3 separate regions of the Homo sapiens genome follow, and all the other regions are linked to region 2. The links are contacts of gene promoters, found by promoter capture Hi-C in human tissues and cell types (Jung and others, 2019). All regions are on one chromosome and are shown on one strand. The core of a region is centred on a gene start or on the middle of the fragment in contact, and the rest is flanking DNA. Distances in the headings are between cores, read along the strand shown.

Region 1 (2,808 bases), core at 22-2,521, 71 kb after region 2:
AGAATATTCTACCCATATCTCTGCCCAACACAATCTTTGCAAAAGTGAAAGAAAGAATAGTACTTACCTCAGACCTGAAGTGGTAGGTAGGACACTACTTTTTGTAGTGGGTCCCACTGTGTCATTTACACTGATGATAACCACAGTTCCTGGGGATGAGCACAAGGGAAGGGAAGGGAAGAAGAGCCAGTACTTTCTCCTTCTCCCACAGTGATACAGTTATATGAGTCTGGAGTTAGAATAACACACTCATGTAACCACAGTAGTCACATTGTAGCATCAAGTGTGATGTGATGTGCCAATGCAGAAACTAGGGATATTCAAGAACCATAGAATATACCTAGAAGAGCTTGATGTACCACATCGCCATTGTGTATTTTAAAACTGTGGTTGGTACATTCGATTTAGCTGTTGTATATTGAGCACCTACTGTGTGCCAGCACATAGAAGATAAACAAGATCACAGCTCTGCTTGGGAGAGAGATGCTCACAATTATAACGCAGAATAGTGAGTGTTATAATGAAGTACAAGGTACTCTTGCCTAGTGGAGACAAGGAAGTTATCACTGAGCTCTTGTTTAAAGGATAAACAATTTATCACTAGGCGAAAAGGTAATGGCTGGCAGAAAGGTAATGGGTGGTGGCTCACGCCTGTAATCCCAGCACTTCGGGAGGCTGAGGTGGGTGGATCAGTTGAGGTCAGGAGTTCAAGACCAGCCTAGCCAACATGGTGAAACCCTGTCTCCACTAAAAGTACAAAAATAGCCTGGTGTGGTGGCGCATACGTGTAGTCCCAGCTACTTGGGAGGCTGAGGCAGGAGAATCACTTGAACCCGGGAGGTGGAAGTTGCGGTGAGCCAAGATTGCACCACTGCACTCCAGCCTGGGCAACAGAGCAAGACTCCGTCTCAAAAAAAAAAAAAAAAAAAGAAATAGGTAAGAGGGTTCATGAGATAGAGTAAAAAGGGTTGTCATTTCCATACTTGCAAAGGCACATATGGTGCTAAGATAACACAGTACTTAATGGAATGGCTTGCTTTAATATGGTACAGCTATTCTTTTTTTTTTTTTTTTTTTTTTGAGACGGAGTTTTGGTCTTGTTGCCCAGGCTGGAGTTCAATGGCACGATCTCAGCTCACTGCAACCTCCGCCTCCTGGATTCAGGCAATTCTCCTGCCTCAGTCTCCTGAGTAGCTGGGATTACAGGCATATGCCACCATGCCCAGCTGAATTTTTGTATTTTTAGTAGAGATGGAGTTTCTTCATGTTGGTCAGGATGATCTTGAACTCCTGACCTCAGGTGATCTGCCCATCTCGGCCTCCCAAAGTGCTGGGATTACAGGCGTGAGCCACCGTGCCCGGCCTCTTTTTTTTTTTAAGATGGAATCTCTCTCTGTCGCCCAGGCTGTAGTGCAGTGGCGCAATCTCAGCTCACTGCAATCTCCGCCTCCCAGGTTCATGTCATTCTCCTGCCTCAGCCTCCCAAGTATCTGGGACTATAGGCACCCGCCAGCATGCCCGGCTAATTTTTTGTATTTTTTTCAGTAGACACAGAGTTTCACCATGTTAGCCAGGATGGTCTTGCTTGATCTCCTGACCTCGTGATCGCCCGCCTCGGCCTTTTTTTTTTTTTTTTTTTTTTGAGACGGAGTCTCACTCTGTCACCCAGGCTGGAGTGCAGTGGCGTGATCTCGGCTCACTGCAACCTCCACCTCCTGGGTTCAAGCGATTCTCCTGCCTCAGCCTCCTGAGTAGCTGGGATTACAGGCACGCGCCACCACGCCTGGCTAATTTTTGTATTTTTAGTAGAGACTTGGTTTCACCATGTTTGTCAGGCTGGTCTCAAACTCCTGACCTTATGATCTGCCCGCCTCAGCCTCCCAAAGTGCTAGGATTACAGGTGTGAGCCACCGCGCTCGGCCGGTACAGCTGTTCTTTAGTGTACGTAATGGATAGAGAATGGCAGGAAATGAAATGACCAGGTAGTTTGGGATTCCATTATACTTTTATATGCCATACTAAGGAGCTTGGAGTTTTATCCTATAGGCAGTGGGCAACTATTAAAGGATTTTAAGAAGGAAATGACTGCCATTTTAGAAAGGTAGCTGCTGGCGTTGTGGAAAATGGAACAAAATGGAAGTTTGGCCTATAGGCGAACAATTGAGACGCTATTGCTAGAGTCTAAGGCAGCAGTCCGCAATCTTTTTGGCACCAGGGACTGGTTTCGTGGAAGACAGTTTTTCCACGGATGGGAGGATGATGGTTTTGGGATAAAACTGTTCCACCTTAGATCATCAGGCATTAGTTAGATTCTCATGAGGAGTGCGCATCCTAGTTTCCTCGCATACGCAGCTCACAACGGTTCGCCCTCCTATGAGAATCTAATGCTGCCGCTGATCTGACTGGCTGTGGAGCCCAAGCAGTAATGCTCGCTCATGCCCCCTACCCCACCTTCTGCTGTGCTGCCGTGTTCCTAACAGGTCACAGACTGGTACTGGTCAGTGGCCTGGGGGTTGGGGACCTCTATTATATGGGATACAAATTTAGGAGTTGGAATTGACACGATTTAGTGACTGATGGGATATGGGGGGTAAAGGGCATGCAGAAGAATCTAGGATAACCCTCAGATTCATGATTTTAGAGACTTGAGTATATGGTGGTACCACCAGCTACAAAAGTTAGGAAATAAGAATAGATTGGTGGACTGATAAGCTTTAAGACATATTGAATTTGAGGTGCCTGAGGATCATTCGAGTTGAACAAGCACCAAGCAGTTGAGCTATCCCTGAGTCAGGAATGCTTCACAAA
Region 2 (3,008 bases), core at 186-2,685:
GCCCATCTTTCTCCCACCTCCTCCACATCTCTCTTAGCTTCCAAAGGCTGCTGCCCTGCCCTCCCCAAAGTTGCTTCCATGCTTGGACTACAGAACAGAGTTGGATGACTTTTTCTGTCCACGATTCTCTTATTTTCTGTGATCCCCGGTGCCCGTGTAACAAGGTCCAGTGCCTGGGTCCCCTCCTTGGACTCCTGAGTGGCCGAGACACCGCTAGTGCGTGGACACCACTCCAGCCCCCATTACCTTTCCACCCTTACACCACGACCCACACCTGGCCTCCTCCCCAGGCTGACCCAGCGCCCCACCACCCTATCTATACACTCCAAGTTCTCCCACGATTCCTCCACTTGCAGCCGCCAGACCCTACTCTATTCCAGAGCCTCCTCTCCACTCCTGACCAGAATGTAGGCCCCTGTGTCCATTTCCAAGGCCACTTCCCTGTGTCTCCACCGGCTCCCTGCCCCCTTCCTCTGCAGCAGGGTAGACCCAACCTGGCCTCTCACCCTTCCATTCTCCCAAGCTTCCCGCCCCCAAGCCCCACCCCTCGTCTTCCATCTACAGTTACCCCCACGCCGGTCCCCAGCCGGGCTCAACCTCCGACCCCAGCTATCCATACCCACATCCCCCATAAATGACCCTCTTTCGACCAGACACTGCCCTGCTGCCTTTCTCCTTCCCAGCTATCCATACCCACATCCCCACCCCCGACCCTCTCCCAACCAGACACTCCCCAGCTGCCCAGCGCCCCTTGCCCTCGGCACCTCAGTCCCCTCCAGCTCCAAACGACCCCCGCCCAGCCAGTCCCCTCCCCTCAGCTCCTCACCTCCATGCCTCCCCCCGCACCCCCGCTCTAGCTCCCCTCAGTCCGCTCCCTTCACCGCCCCCTTCGCTGCCCCTCGGCTGCCCGGTACCACCTTTCCGCACAGCCCCACTCCGCCCTCCTCGCAGCTCCCCCGCCCCCCACGCCCCCGTTTCCCCCAGCGATCCCTCACTGCCCTCCAGTTGCCCCCCATCTCTCCTCCCAGCCCCAGCGCCGTCTTTCTTGCTCCCCTCCCGCCCTTGGAGCTCCCCCGGCTGCCCCCAACGTCTGGGAGACCCCCTCGGCGCCCCCTCCCTAGGTGAGCCCCACCTCTGCCGCCGCGGAGCCCCCTCCCTCGCTCCTCCCCCGGCTTCCTTCCGCTGCCCCGCGCTCCTTCTCGGCGCCCGCTCTCGGTGCCCAGCGCCCCGCGCCGGGGATCGGTCCCTGATCCTCCGCGGGCGGGCTGCCGGGGCCGCGCCCCTTACCGCGGACTCCGAGTGCGGGACGACGGGTTCGCTCCCGGACGGTCGGCGGGACGGCAGGACCTGGCGTCGGGAGGGCGCGGAGGGGGCCGGGGCGGGGCGCTGCGGGATGGTCTGGTCCGGTCAGGTCCTCACAGTGGCGCCTGAGGGCTGAGGCTCCCGCTCCAGCACTGCTCCGCTCCGGCCGCATCCAGGCCCCGCCCAAGGGCGGAGTCTGTGTTCGCCCCGCCCCGGCCCTCAACTCCTAGCAGGTGTAATCCGAGGTGACTCAGGACCTCCAGGTCCCCCATGTCTGGGTGACTCTCGTGATTTATCTTAATTGTCATGCCTCGTTCCATTGACTGAACTTACTAGGGTAATTAGAGAGCTTTGATGATAATGTAGCTGATGATGGGTAGCAGTTTTGCCATTTCCAAACTGCTTTCTGGTCCGGTCCGTTCTATGGCTCCGTCTTCACAAAAGCCCAGAGAGGGAGGCTGACTACAAGCGGAAACCAAGCCAGAAACCTGGACGCTGTCCTCTACCCTATCTGTGTTTCCTTCACACCCCACATCCCACCGCCTTAACATATCCCTGCCCTTCCTCTGTGTCTCCATTGCCCTTGTTCTGACTCCAGCATCATCACTTCTTGCTTGGACTAATGCAACAGCTTCCTAATTCCTGCCTTCACTCTCCAATTCACCCTATAAAACCAGGACGTGGTGTCAGCATGGCCATTTCCACCCTTGTACAAAAATTCTTTCTCCTGTGGTCTCCAGTCATACCACCCTCCACCCCTCCTCATCACTGACACCCAATTGTTCCTTATGCATTAAAGATTGCAGCCCCTGGCCCATGGTCATCCTAACTAGCCCCTGTTCTGCCATACTCCTGGTGACTTCGGTAGCTGTGAGACTTCCTGGTCCCATTCATTCTGAGTCAGATACCAAAATCATTTTGACACAAGCCCGAGCAACCCTTTAAAAAATGTCACCATGTTACCATCAACCTTGTTTAAGAAAACTCTCGGCCAGGCACAGTGGCTGACGCCTGTAATCCCAGCACTTTGGAAGGCCAAAGTGGGCAGATCACTTGAGGTCAGGAGTTCGAGACCAACCTGGCCAACATGGTGAAACCCTGTCTCTACTAAAAATACAAAAATTAGCCGGGCATGGTGGTGCATGCCTGTAGTCCCAGCTACTTGGGAGGCTGAGGCAGAATTGCTTGCACCCAGGAGGCAGAGGTTGCAGTGAGCCGAGATCACTGCACTCCAGCAGTGCACTCCAGCCTGGGCAACAAAGCCAGACTCCATCAAAAACCAAACAAACAAACAAACAAAAACCTCTCAATGGTTTCCCATTACCAGGAGGCTGTCAACAGGAGTAGAAAAATGTTCTTGCCTGGCCTGGCCCTAGGAAGTCCCACTTCCACTAGAGGAGGCAGATAGAGGAGGCAATAAATACCCCACCCTCAAATCCTGATATGGACTTCCAGTCTTCCTGAGGTCACAGGAGCCAGCTGAAGGCTTGCTCTAGAATCATTGTCTTTCCCCACACTTCTCCCCCATCTCAGATCTTAGAGGTCTGAGTCAAATACCAAAACCATTTTCCCCCCAAGTTCCATTATGACCCTGTCTACAGTGTACATCTCCAGCCTAGGAACCACCCAAGCTGACAGCTCCTCTGCTTGTCTGGCCTCTGCCTCAGACGCTTACTCTTCTGAGCTTCTTGCCCAGCCCTTTCACT
Region 3 (2,984 bases), core at 390-2,889, 120 kb before region 2:
TTTGAGACAGTCTGGTTCTGTTGCCCAGCCTAGAGTGCAGTGGGCGCGATCTTGACTCACTGCAACCTCTGCCTCCCGGGTTCAAGCGATTCTCCTGCCTCAGCCTCCCCAGTATCTGGGATTACAGGCATCCGCCACCACACCCAGCTAATTTTTGTATTTTAGTAGAGACAGGGTTTCACCATGTTGGCCAGGTAGGTCTCCAACTCCTGACCTCACGTGATCCACCAGCCTCAGCCTCCCAAAGTGCTGGGATTACAGGCGTGAGCCACGGCGCCCAGTCAGAAAAACAGAGAGTTTTTTGTTCTGGTTTTGTTTTTTTGAGACAGAGGCAGGTGATCTTCCTGCCTTGGCCGCCCAAAGTGCTAGGATTACAGGTGTGAGCTACTGCACCTGGCCAACAGAGAGCTTTTTAATGCTAAATCTTATTTTCCTAAAACACACAGACATACACACACACACACAACTTCAGTTAGAAACAATATACACTCTTTCTATTCTTACTAGCCCATCAGCCCACTTTAAAGAAATCAGTCAGGCCCGGTGCAGTGGCTCATGCCAGTACTCCCAGCACTTTGGGAGGCCAAGGTGGGCTGATTGAGCTCAGGAGTTTGAGACTAGCCTGGGCAACAGAGCGAAACCCAACTCTACAAAAAAGGACAAAAATTAGCTGGGCATGATGGTGTGCACATGTAGTCCCAGCTACTTAGGAGGCCAAGGTGGGGAGGATGGCTTGAACCTGGGAGGTGGAGGCTGCAGTGAGTTGAGATCACACCACTGCACTCCAGCCTGGGTGACAGACCCAGACTGTCTCAAACACAAAACAAAACAAAATAAGGAAATCAGTCTAAGGAATAGTAAGAGACAAAAGATATGTTTATTAAAGTTATACTAGTATTCATAAGATTTAACATATTTCAATCTTAAAAGCACTTACTTTGTTAAATGAGTTTGAATCTCGTGAAGTAATACCTAGGTTACCTTTACTTTACAAGACAAGTGAGAGTGCAAAACAAAAAGAAATTTGGATTCACTTGTTCATTTGTTATCAGACTAAGGAATTGTCAATCTCATGGAATTTACACACATGGAAGTCATAATGATTTCTTTTGTAGCTGTGAGATTTTGTGATCATTTTAGCAATATTTGTGTGTCTGTGTGTGTGTGAAATGAAACACACACAAATGAAATTACTGGCTCATGTATTGAATGAAGCATTACGGTTCCAGGAGTTTTCATTGTAAATATCAACAAATAAACCTATGTTCTTCCCATCCAATACAAAAAAAAAAGTTCTCTTGTTTTCTGGTGTATAGTTTTCTTCTGATACCTCAGATTTGTATAAGGCTTCTGCTCAGTATACGTGCTGCCAAAGTGAGCAAAAGGCTTCTGCTCAGAAGTGAGCCACTTCACTAGCAAACTATTCAGGAAGCCAACAAATGTTAGTGTTCTCAATGCAACTGTTCCACTCACTGGAATTGTGATCCTCCTCCTGTTCCACAGCATATAATAGTAAACAACATAATATTCAGAAATAGCCTGTACCTTATTCAGCACACACCCACCCATTATTTTCTATAATATATGGAATTTTTATTTATTTATTTATTTATTTATTTATTTATTTATTTATTTATGTTTGAGACAGAGTCTTGCTCTGTTGCCCAGGCTGGAATGCAGTAGCACAATTTCAGCTCACTGCAACCTCTGCCTCCCAAGTTCAAGCGATTCCCCTGCCTCTGCCTCCCAAGTAGTTGGGATTACAAGCACCTGCCACTACAACTGGCTAATTTTTTTATTTTTAGTAGCGACAGGGTTTCACCATGTTGGCCAGGCTGGTCTTGAACTCCTGACCTCAGATGATCCACCCACCTCCGCCTCCCAAAGTGCTGGGATTACAGGCGTGAGCCCCCACGCCCAGCCTGAAAATTTATTAAGATAACCATCTCCTCACTTGTAACAGTCTGACCAAAATTTAAATTAGAAGGACTTGCCCTTCAGAAGTTTATATGCCTTTTCGACAGGGCGTGGTAGCTCACACCTGTAATCCCAGCACTTTGAGAGGCAGAGGCAGGCAGATCTCTTGAGGTCAGGAGTTCGAGACCAGCCTGGGCAACTTGGTGAGACACCTGCCCCCACCACCACCTCCATTTCTACAAAAAATTAGCCGGACATGGTGGGGCAGGTTGTGATGGTGCCTCTGTACTCCAGCCTGGGCGATGAATTGAAATCCTGTCTCAAAATTTTTTTTAATCATTAAAAAAAAAAAAAAAGAAGTTTACATACCTTTTCATTTGTTCTTTCCTTCTCCATAGAAATACAGGTCTTTTTACGAGCAGGTTAAACATGGAAAGTGCTCTGTACTTGTTTTAGTCAATCCAAAATACCTAACGTTAAGTGTTCTTCATTGTTAAAATTTACTATTCAGAATGCACCACAGCCAGGCCAGGTGCAGTGGCTCACCTGTGCCTGTAATCCCAGCACTATGGGAGGCCAAGGAGGGCAGATCATCTGAGGTCAGGAGTTTGAGACCAGCCTAGGCAAAATGGCGAAATCTCATCTCTACAAAAGCTTAGCTGGGCATGATGGCACGTGCCTGTAGTCCCAGCTACTGGAGAGCCTGAGGTGGAAGGATCACCTAAGCCTGGGAGGTCGAGGCTGCAGTGAGCCGTGATGGCGCCACTGCACTCCAGCCTGGGTTACAAAGTGAGACCCTGCCTCAAAAATAAAAATAAAAATAAAAAATAAATAGAATACACCACTACTAATCCTGCCCAACCAGAATTTCCACTCAACACCAATAAAAATTTGAATATCAATTCCCAACCTGAAGTCCCTTAACCCTTCCAGAAGGGAAGGGAATCAATACTTGGTAAGCATTTAATACAGATCCCTAAAAAAGCATAATAGGTGTCCTGGAAATATGCCCAACATTTCAAAAAAGCGGAATACAAATTACACATATGCTGAAGTAAAATTCCGCA

The links. The method cuts DNA at HindIII sites, captures the fragments that hold promoters and counts their contacts. A contact is called where the count stands out against the background at its distance.
Region 1: a fragment that was not itself captured here is called in contact with the fragment with the promoter of RAB3B in region 2 in 2 of the 25 tissues and cell types used here (ovary and thymus).
Region 3: a contact is called between a fragment that was not itself captured here and the fragment with the promoter of RAB3B in region 2, in 5 of the 25 tissues and cell types used here (IMR-90 fibroblasts, lymphoblastoid cells, mesendoderm cells and 2 more).

What each region holds. Positions count from the first base shown.
Region 1 is chr1:52,060,578-52,063,385 of GRCh38, forward strand. All of the region lies in intron 2 of BTF3L4 (basic transcription factor 3 like 4), which reads left to right. Among named protein-coding and RNA genes, the nearest start is that of BTF3L4, 5.7 kb to the left of the region's middle. The HindIII fragment of the contact is 4,475 bases long and covers 1-2,808 here.
Region 2 is chr1:51,989,265-51,992,272 of GRCh38, forward strand. RAB3B (RAB3B, member RAS oncogene family) reads right to left here and starts at 1,436. Exons shown (of 5, transcript NM_002867.4): 1 at 1,288-1,436. RefSeq lists a silencer at 1,350-1,459. The HindIII fragment of the contact is 14,307 bases long and covers 8-3,008 here.
Region 3 is chr1:51,871,888-51,874,871 of GRCh38, forward strand. The region is part of intron 1 of NRDC (nardilysin convertase); the gene reads right to left. Among named protein-coding and RNA genes, the nearest start is that of NRDC, 5.3 kb to the right of the region's middle. The HindIII fragment of the contact is 5,458 bases long and covers 1-2,984 here.